Linked DNA regions of Homo sapiens: region 1 is linked to region 2. The links are contacts of gene promoters, found by promoter capture Hi-C in blood cells and fetal thymus (Javierre and others, 2016). All regions are on one chromosome and are shown on one strand. The core of a region is centred on a gene start or on the middle of the fragment in contact, and the rest is flanking DNA. Distances in the headings are between cores, read along the strand shown.

The links. The method cuts DNA at HindIII sites, captures the fragments that hold promoters and counts their contacts. A CHiCAGO score of 5 or more calls a contact.
Region 1: a contact is called between a fragment that was not itself captured here and the fragment with the promoter of AP1G1 in region 2, in 2 of 17 cell types (total B cells and total CD8 T cells). The highest score is 9.0, in total B cells.

The regions. Positions count from the first base shown.
Region 1 is chr16:71,480,988-71,486,267 of GRCh38, reverse strand. ZNF19 (zinc finger protein 19) reads left to right here. Exons shown (of 6, transcript NM_006961.4): 2 at 1,520-1,679; 3 at 4,125-4,186. The coding sequence starts at 4,154. Among named protein-coding and RNA genes, the nearest start is that of ZNF19, 5.7 kb to the left of the region's middle. RefSeq lists a silencer at 1,644-1,923 and an enhancer at 1,491-2,400. The HindIII fragment of the contact is 274 bases long and covers 2,067-2,340 here.
Region 2 is chr16:71,805,251-71,810,601 of GRCh38, reverse strand. It overlaps AP1G1 (adaptor related protein complex 1 subunit gamma 1), which reads left to right and starts at 1,768. Exons shown (of 23, transcript NM_001128.6): 1 at 1,768-1,839. It overlaps LOC124903714 (a long non-coding RNA gene), which reads right to left and starts at 1,644. Exons shown (of 2, transcript XR_007065110.1): 1 at 1,400-1,644. RefSeq lists enhancers at 717-796, 1,357-2,046, 1,990-2,637. The HindIII fragment of the contact is 17,673 bases long and covers 1-1,915 here.

The DNA of each region.
Region 1 (5,280 bases), core at 954-3,453, 320 kb after region 2:
CAACTCAGCTAGTAGCTGGGACTACAGGCGTGTGCCCACACCTGGCCAATTTTTGTTCCTTTTTGGAATTTTTTTTTTTTTTTTTTCGGTAGAGACAGGGTTTTGTCATGTTGCCCAGGCTGGTTTGAACTCCCAGGCTCAAGTGATCTGCCCACCTGGGCCTCCCACAGTGCTGGGATTACAGATGTGAGCCACTGTGCCTAGCCCCAAGATAATCTTAAAGTTGGCTGACTAGCAATCTTAATTCCACCTGCAACCTCAATTTCCCTTTGTCATGTAACTTAATGTACTCACAGGTTCTAGAGATTAGGACATATACATCTTTGAGGGGAACAAAACACCATTCTGCTTACCAGAGGGAAAATGGAGAGTGACTGCTGATGGTTATGAGGTTCCTTTGGGGAGATGAAAATGTCCTGAAACTGATTGTGGTGATGTTTGCGCAAGTCTCTGAACACACTAAAACCTATTTAATTTTATACTCTGCATTGATGAATTGTATGGTGTGTGAATTAAATGTTAATAAGGCAGGTGTGTGTGTGTGTGTTCAGTATTTTTGAAACTAAATTCTTTCACCTTCTTGCCTGAAACCAGCTCCTCTTCTTCAATTCCTGATCTCAGCTAATGGCACCTTCATCTATCAGGTCATCCAAAATTCATGGCTATTATAGATTGCTCTGGCTGCCTTGTATTCAGTCATTAAAAAAAAAAATGTCCACCGTTTTCACTTCCTAAATAGTTACTTAATATATCCCTCCTTAGACCTGGTCTTTCTTTCTTTTTGTTTTTTTTTGTTTTTTTGGTTTTTTTTTTTTTTGAGATGGAGTTTTGCTTTTGTCGCCCAGGCTGGAGTGCAATGGCACAATCTCGGCTCACTGCAACCTCCACCTCTCGGGTTCAAGCAATTCTCCTGCCTCAGCCTCCCGAGTAGCTGGGATTACAGGTGCCCGCCATTACGCCTGGCTAATTTTTGTATTTTTAGTAGAGACGAGGTTTCACCACGTTGACCAGGCTGGTCTCGAACTCCTGACCTCAGGTGATCTGCCCGCCTTGGCCTCCGAAAGTGCTGGGATTACAGGCGTGAGCCACCGCGCCTGGCCTGCTGACCTGGTCTTTCTTAACGTGTCTGGGTCTTTACCTCTAAGGAGGACAGCTTTTTTGTGCAAAGACCCTTTGGCAGTCTGGTGACACCTTCAAAACCAATGAACATACAATTAAACAGTTTTTTAGAATTTGTGATACAGAAATATAAGTGCAGCTTTACCAACGTGATGAAATGTAATGACAAGACTTGAGGTGGGCCCGATAACAACAAGGACAATTTCAAATTAGTGACGAGAATAGCCATATTCTGAGATCTGCATCAACTGTAATGTGATATGAAAATATCTGTGATTTCTATCGGTGACAGTCACAGATACGGCTGATACTACAGTAGTTTGTTGCCAACATAGAAGAAAATGCTAAATTTCGGTTAGAGATTAGCGAAAACAATGATATACTTTCTTTCCTATTCAAGGTCTCTGAGGATCCCCGGGTGGAAACTCCTCCCGGGAGTAAAACCACACAACCACTGAGAAGACCGCTCCGGCATCCTAGAGAGTACGCGTGTGAGCCTGGGTGCAAGGCCAAAGTAGTGACGCACTTCCGTTCACGCACCGCTTTCTGTTTTTCCTGAGGTGAGTGTTGGGGTTTGTCGCCTAGGAGTCCTTGCTAGGCTCAGGCACTGCACCTCTAGAGAAGGCTGTCGGCTTCGTCCCTGCTGCCTCAGTGGAGGGAGACAGGGCGGCCCCTCCGGGACCGGGGAGCGGAGGCTGCTCGCGGGCCGGTCCCGGTCTCCCTCTGGTGCCTTCGCTCCCCCACGCCTGCATCGGCGCCTTGGGAAATGGAGGCTGTGGATATGGGCGGCTGGATGGAAGGGACGCCTCTGTTCTCGACGCCGCCCAAACCCCATCTGCTCATTGGGCCACAGCTGCTTACTGAGCAGCTATGTGCCAGTTCCTGCTCTAGATTCCGGGGATGCAGCGGTGAATGAGGCGGGGCGTGGGCCCCGCCCCCAGGAAGCTTTCCGCCCAATGGGAAAGTCATGTATTAATCAAATCTGGTTATTTCACTCCACCTGCCCGTGACTTAGTGCACGTAGATCGAAGACCAAGTTCTTGACGTGCACAAAGTGTGGCTTTGTCCCTTGTGACTTCTTCAGCATCATCTAACAGCACACTCTCCTTTGACTGCTACTACAGTGTTCTTGATCCTTCACTACTAGAACATGGCTTTTGCGTATGCTGTTACTTTTGTAAAGATTTCCTTCATACCTTAGTTAATTTATTTTCTTAAGCTTCCCATCCACGTTAGTTTCCCCTGGCAGTGATTTAAATTGTGGACTTAAAAGTTATTTGAGAGAATCTTGATTAATGTGTCTTTCCTTTAGACTAAGCTCTGCGAGGGACAGGATCATGCCCCTTCTCTCTCTACTTCATCTGTTGTGTGTCACACGTGGCCTTGCATGAAATATGTATGAGATAAATATTTGTTGAATGAAGAAAGCACAAATCAATATATAATTTCAAACTGGATTAAGTGGTATATAGGAAAAGGAGTACGGTGCGAGTGGAGTGTTTAACAGAGACACCTGACCTGGTCTGTAGAGCGATCATGATCTGAAGGTGAAGGGTGGATAGATTACTGGAGAGAATGGCGGCTAGATTACTGGAGAGAATGGCAGGCAGAGAATCTCAGTTGTAATGGTTCTGAGATTGGAGAAGAGTAGTTCATACAGAAGAAACAGCAGGTATGAAGGTCCTGAGTTAGCACAGAGGAAACTGAAAGAAGGCCATTGTAGCTAAACTAAGAGAAAAGAGGGTGGCGGCACAAGATGAGGCTCGCAGAAAACAGCATCATGCATTAAGTCCCTGTAGGGAAGATGCTGGCTTTTTATAGAATATTGCTGTTTAACTAGAATACAAAGTGTCTGTAAGAGATGATATAGTTAAAACAATAACCCAGATGTTTTAGTGTGTTGAGTTGGCCCTTCAGGGTCCTTTGGTAATCAGTTTCTGGTTTTCATGGCCCTTGAGTGGGGCAATGAACAAAAAAGATGCCTGCTCCAGGTCCAAGTAAAGGAAGACTTGCTCTGAGATTTTTTTCCTGAGTTTTCTTGGCCATTCTTGTCTATTATTTTATGTTAACCTTAAAATCATTTTGCCAGTTCTAAAAGCATTCCTGTTAGGATTACTATTGGAAAGAATTTAGTGTAGTTATTAAAAGCAGGAGGCGGTGCCTCACGCCTGTAATCCCATCACTTTGGGAGGCCGAGGTGGGTGGATCGCTAGAGGCCAGTAGTTTGAGGACTAGTCTGGGCAATATGATGAAACCCTGTCTCTACTAAAATTACAAAAATGAGCCAGGTGTGGTGGCACATGCCTGTAATCCCAGTTACTTGAGAGGCTGAGGCAGGAGAATTGCTTGAACCTGGGAGGCCGTGGTTACAGTCAGCTGAGATCACGCCATTGCACTCCAGCCCAGGTGACAGTGAGATTCTTGTCTCAACAAACAAACAAACAGACAAAAACATGACCTTTGAAGCCTGGCAGATCTAGTGTGGGATCCGAGTTCATCCATTCACCAGCTGAGTGATCTTGGTAGAAGAAATTATTCTCTTAGCCTTGTCTTCTCATTTGGGAAAAATTAAAGGTTCAAAAGATTGTTGTGAGGACTAAATAAGAGAATATGTATTTTTCATCCAAAAGCATGATACTTGCTATTTTTAACCTTTTATATTCTCAGTCAAATTTATTTTTAAAAATAAAGGTCTGAGATTCTTCTTGTTAGGTTTCGCTCTGAGTTTATTGGTGTCTTTTGCTTGTTTTGCTCTTCATTTAGCTTGGTGTTGGTGAGGACAGGCTCTGGTGTCCTAGGACAAGTTACTTATTCTTTCAAAATCTGTTTCCTCAGAATTACAAACCTCATGGTATGATGTGGATTAAAAAGTACATATTTATGCACCACTAACCCAGTGAGCATTTAGTAAGTGAATGCTGCTTGCTATTGGCAAATTTATTGCTCTAAAGAGAGCATTTTACTGGGCTGAGCTCACTGTTGGTTCTCTCTGTTTCTTCCCTCAGCCTTTGCCTGCTAAGAGGGAGACCAGGTCATGGCAGCCATGCCTCTGAAAGCTCAATACCAGGTGAGCTGTGGATCCCTGAGGTCAGCTCTATGGAGGTCTGAGTTGAAGGAAATGAGGTGGATAAAGGTGATTCTGGCAAGTCTTAGAGCCAAAGCAGTAGGAAAACCCCTGCTGATTCCCTCCAGTAGGACTGGGTGCTGGGGAAAGAGCTAGGGGCAGTGAAGATGGAAACAGGAGAGAGTGATCTGGAAAGCTGAAGTACAGCCTCCTGAATACTGAGAATCTCTCCTGGGCCAGAGGATCCCCAGGTTCAGTAGCTGTCCCTCTGCAGAGGGAATTGTGAGAACGAGGGACTCAGGCTGGTGATGTAGGGATCCAGGATAGGATGGAAGTGACTAAGATCAGCAAGGGCACAAGGTTTTTGGGAAGTAGCAGCAGAGGGACAGCAGGAAGAAGACAAGAAAGAGGGGGCCTATCTAATTTGTCCTCCAAAAGAAAGGAGGAAGTTTGGGCTTCAGAATCAGGAAACATATGTCCTTGAGGTCAGTACTGCTGGCGAAGTGAGGCAATGGGCTGTGATAGGAAAAGTCTACACTCCCAACAGGACACCTGAAGTTAGGGATCTGTTAGGCCTCAGTGGCATCATAGCCTTGAGCCAGTCACATAATTGCTTTGCATCTTAACTGGATTCATTTGTAAGGTGAACATAAGTACCTTACATTTTTGGGACAGAGAATTGATTTCTTGAATTACATTTCACTTTTTGAGACGGAGTTGCTGCTTTGTCATTTCTTTTCTCCTGGCACTTATTTATCCAGTAACTTAGTATCCATGAACCATATCCCAAATCATAATCTCATATTTCTCACATCCTTCAGTTTTCTCTACCTGACTGTGTCACTGATATATCAGCTTCCTTGGAGCTCCCACCCTCTTCTGGTTTTTCCACAAGTGTCTGACATCACACTATATTGCAGTCCTGATCACTCAGTTTCTAAATTGCTGTGTAATTGTTGACTATGTTCTCCCCTGATACCATTTCCAGAGAGACACAAAGTCTTGTTGTTTTTCCTTCTCTCTCTGCCACTTGTGCCATCTTTCAGATTACATTTAGAGTTTGTTGTTCCTTCTCTGGAATTTTGTTTGCAGCGCTT
Region 2 (5,351 bases), core at 519-3,018:
TTTTTGTTTTTGTGAGACAGGGTCTCACTCTGTCGCCCAGACTCGGCTATCTGCAACCTCTGCCTCCCAGGTTCAAGCGATTCTCCTGTCTCAGCCTTCCGAGTAGCTGGGATTACAGGTGCCCACCACCATGCCCGGCTAATTTTGTATTTTTAGTGGAGATGGAGTTTCACCATGTTGGCCAGTCTGGTCTCGAACTCCTGACCTCAGGTGATCCGCCCACCCCGGCCTCCTAAAGTACTGGGATTACATGCGTCAGCCACTGTGCCCGGCCTACTTAGAGCAATTTTTGTTAAGTGTTTTGAAATCCCTGCATGAAAATGACTAAGGAAAAAAGTGCAACCTTCTCTCTATGACACCCAAATCCTAAACTCAAGATTTGTGGTTAGTTCTGGCCAGGCCGGTGGCTCACACCTGTCATCTCCACACTTTGGGAGGCCGACGCAGGCAGATCACCTGAGGTCAGGAGTTCAAGACCAGCCTGGCCAACATGGCGAAACCCTCTCTCTACTAAAAATGCAAATATTAGACGGCCGTGGTGGCGGGAGCCTGTAATCCCAGCTACTTGCGAGGCTGAAGCACGAGAAATTGCTTGACCCCGGGAGGCAAGGTTGTAGTGAGCCGGGATCCCGCCACTGCACTCCAGCCTGGGCAACAGAGCGAGACTTTGTCTCAAAAAAAAAAAAAAAATTTTTTTTGTGTGGTTGGTTCTGTTCTCTTTGGCACCCAGCCTGCTGCTGTGTTGTATTGTACTTTGTTGCCAATCTAGCAGAAGGATTTTAGTCTAGGTAGGTCACCTTTCCTTTAAACAGGCCAAGATATCAGGCCCTCTTTACATTCACATGGAAAAGACTCACGTCATATGTTAGTAATTATTTATCAGGTTAGGAACTGTCTGGTTAGACTTTCTTTGGCCCTGGTTATTAATTCATGGAGTCATAGACCGAAAGCCCATTCTGTAAGGGTTTCAGCTAACATGAGTCCAAGTCTTCTTTCTACATATGAGGAAATTGAATCCCTGGAGAGTTTAAGTGACTTGAGCAGTGCAAGCACCGCGGTACCGGGCGTGGAATCCATTCTTTTCAGTCATCCTCTTAACTCTTCATAAAATATGTTGCAAAGACACCATAAAACCATAGAATACCACCTGGAGCATGCTCCTTAAGTTATAAAGAAAGCAAAAATCTTAAAGGAGACAGCAAAGAGTTCGGGATTCCCGTGGACGAAGACCTTTTCAGCCCTGCTGTCTTCTCCGCCCCCACCTGTCTCGCTTGCTCTCACTTCCTGGGCTACCTGACTTAGCTCCGCCCCCTCCAGGTGGCTCCACCGCTTCCTGGTAGCCCAGCTCCACCCCCCCTACCCCCCCACCCCCCTACCCCCCACCCCCCTACCCCCTCACCAAGCGGAACCAATGTCCGTCCGCTACGGGGTAGGCCGGATCTTTCTCGCTCAGACTCATCGCAGCGGTGACTCGGCAGCAGCGTCTCGCGTCATCAGTGACAGCCCCGATCCTTGCTACGTTTGCGTCGCTCTGCCAGGAGCAGTCGCCTCCTCCTTGGCAAATAGTCCTCGGCAGGGTCCGAGTTCTTGGATAATTCGAGAGAAAAGGCACGATAAGTTGCAGTACGAGGACACGGAAACGACCAGGAGAGGAGGACAGGGAGCGAAGTTTCCTCAATAGTGTGTGAAGTTAGTTAAAAACTCCCTCCTTCCTCAGGATCCCTCCGCCTGCGGTAGCGGTGGTGAGGCCGAGGGAGCCGCCATTTTGGATGTTCGGTTCCTGCTGCCACTGCTGCCGCCGCCCCCGGAGCTGCTGGTTTCATTCGAGGTTTCGGGCCGGTGAGTGTCACTCCCGGCGCTGAGAGCATATTGCTGCTTTTGCCCCGCCGCTGCCGCGGGCGCTCGACCGGAAGCTTCCTTTCAGTTTCAGGGGTCCAGTCCCAGGCTGTGGGTGTTGAGAAGAGAAGACAGAGAAGCTGGGCCAGGAGAGGCCGGGAGCCCCAGGGGCTGCTCCGACTTCTGGAGGGCCGACCCCGAGGCCTCGGACCGGGAGGTTCCGCGCGCCGCGGCGTTCCGTGTTGTGGCGTTGCCCCGCCGGTACGGGCCTCCTTGAACCCTTGACTTTCTCAGGCTGCGATCTTTGAGGGCTCATTCAGGGAGCCTGGGGTTTAGCGGGGCGGGCCCCACCCCCGCGTGTCTTCTCTGAGCCACGTATCAGCGTTCTTGTGTCTTGTACCCGTGTCAGGTCTGTCAGATAACTCCCAGCATATCCAAATGCCCAGTTAATCGCTGCCTGCCCCTGCAGTGCCGTCCTCTCGGAACCGGACATCGGCCTCGCCTCTCTCTAACCTTCCGACCAACTTCTTTCCCAATTTTTCGTGTGTGTGTGTATATGTTGTTGTTTTGTTTTTTTCAACCTACCTGCGAGTATACTGTTTACCCTTTTCTCAGCTCCTGGCCCTGCGGACGTCAGCGTCTAATAATTCTCCCGGTCTTCCTGATTGCCTGAAAGAGTCGGGACGGTTCGGTTGATTGTGTTTCCCGGTTAGGACTCGGTGTAGGAGATCCATCGAACCACTCGCTCAGGGTAATGTTTATGAAGCAGATTATGTTTATGAAGCAGATTAAATGGCTTTTGGGAGGCAAGAGCTGTCAAATGTTTTCTCATATGTGGATTCCCTCCCTGTGCTGAATACTTAGCTTTTTGGTGCTTACTGACACTTGTGTGGTATTTTTTTTTCTCCCCTATTATATATCCCTGAGCACGGAAATCTGTCCATGGAGAAAAATATTAATCTGAGGTAGGTAGAAAGGAGAGTTGGGCTGCTTTACAGTGATTAGTTAACAGAAGGGAGGAGTTAGTGCTTTCTTAGTGACCTTAACTTTGAAGTGTTTGTACAGTAATGATCTTTGCTGACTGATTCTAAAAAATACTTGTAATGATTTCATGTATTGGGTTTTTCTGGGGATAGCTGAATTTTAAATATTCACTTCCACCGTTCCCTAGAATACTTGTCAAATACCTAACTTGTCACACACCCTAACTTTCACGTTTGAAAAATATGAACCCTCTAAGTACTCGTAATCTCGTCACTTTTATTCTAAAGGCATGTTTGCAGTCTAGCATGCTTGAATAAAAAGTATGTCTTTATTTTTATTTATTTATTTTTTGAGACGAAGTCTCCCTCTGTCTCCAGGCTGGAGTGCAGTGGCACGGTCTCGGCTCACTGCAACCTACGCCTCCCGGGTTCAAGCAGTTCTCCTGCCTCAGCCTCCCAAGTAGCTGGGACTACAGGCACACGCCGCCACGCCCGGCTAATTTTTTGTTGTTGTATTTTAGTAGAGATGGGGTTTCATCATGTTGCCCAGGCAGATCTCGAACTCCTGAGCTCAGGTAATCCGCCCGCCTCGGCCTCCCAAAGTGCTAGGATTACAGGCGTGAGCCACCGTGCCTGGCAAAAAGTATTTCACAGTTATTCACTGATACATTTCCTACGTTTCAAGTTAGGCGAGTGTGATTGAATCACCCTTATTTCATCTCAGCCTGGGTTTTCACATCTGCAAAAGAGAAATTAACTTATTTGAGATCACAGTCTAGTGGTTGAAGTTTAAATTTATAACTTGAATTGAGTCAAGCTTTTTAATATTGCTAAGCCACTTATAGATGCATTATTATTATCAGGTTATTGAAATGAGATTGTAGATAAATTCCTCTATAGGTCATATGATGTCTCAGAAGAAAACAATATTTTCAGTTTAAATACTCAGTGATCTTGTTATTTAAGCAGATTTTTCAAAAATATATTAGTTACTATTAGATACGTGAGTTCTGTATTACCCTGAAGCAATGGAATTTTCTCTTTTGGTTTAAAGGAACTGTCAAACACTGAACACCTATGTAATGCTCACTCATTTAGTAAGTATGCCCTCGCAGTTACTACTGAAATGTTCCATTTCTGACTTAGACTTTTCAAGTAAGGTGTTAGAAGAGCTATCACATAGATGTTAGTTAACTCAGTGTTTTTCATGCTTTAATATATTGGTATTTAAATGTCATTCAGGCGGGCGCTCAGTGGCTCATGCTTGTAATCCCAACACTTTGGGAGGTGGAAGGTGGATCCCTTGAGCCCAGGAGTTGGAGGCCAGCCTGGGCAACCTAATGAGACTCCGTCTCTACCAAAATATTTAAAAATATTAAACTTTTAAAAATTCATTCTTAGATAGTTTGCATTCACTGTAGAAAGGGTCCTTTTGCCTTAACAAATTCCTAGCAAAGTGTTGTTTAGTGCACCATTGATCAGTGCATATTTGAATGTCTGCTTTGCGTTTAGGAAACCTCCGTTTTCTTTTGGGGGCAGTTGCTTGTTCTTTGGTCTGACCTCTGTCATTGATAGCAGTTCTAGATTTGAGGGCAGATTTTAGAGTGAAACTTTAAAGTACAGAATTTGCCAGGAATGCCTTGGTGATATTTCACCCCAGTGTTTATTTAAAAAAGGAGTTTTAAAAATCAGTGGTATGCAAACAAAACCAACTTCTTTATGATTTATAAAAACTCTTTTTTTTTTTTTTTATTATTTTTATTGTTTGAGACAGGGTCTCACTCTGTTGCCCAGGCTGGAGTGCAGTGGTCTCAGCTCACTGCAGCCTGGACCTCCTGGACTCAAGCGATCCTCCTGCCTCAGCCCTCCACGTAGCTGGGACTACAGGCGTGTGCTACCACGCAGGGCTAATTTTTGTATTTTTTGTATAGATAGTGTTTTGTCATGTTGCCCAGGCTGGGCTCAAGCAATCCTCTTGCCTCGGCCTCGCAAAGTGCTGAGATTACAGGTGTGAGCCACCTCACCTGGCCAAAACTTTTAATTTATACAAATTTAAAAAGTTGAATGAGTATTTTCCAAGATATTATTTTTAATTAAAAAAATTGAATTGGCAATCTACATACCAAAACAGATTTTCCACAATGCTTAATCCCCTTATTTGCATTTGATGAGGATTTTAAAATTTTGTGTATATAGCAGGACTTAATTGCTATCAAAACTTTAAAACTCTTACTTAGAGCTTCAGAACATTTAAAAATACTGTTTTAGGTGTTTGTAATTTAGTCTGTCCTTGCTTTATGAATTGTTTTCAGTTCTTTTTTGTTTGTTTTTTGAGACAAAGTCTTACTCTGTCTCCCAGGCTGGAGTGCAGTGGCTCGATCTCGGCTCACTGTGCAACCTCCACCTCCTGGATTCCAGTGATTTCTGCTGCCTCAGCCTCCCGAGTAGCTGGGATTACAAGCGTGCGCCACCATGCCCAGCTAATTTTTGTATTTTTAGTAGAGGCGGGGTTTCACCATGTTGGCTAGGCTG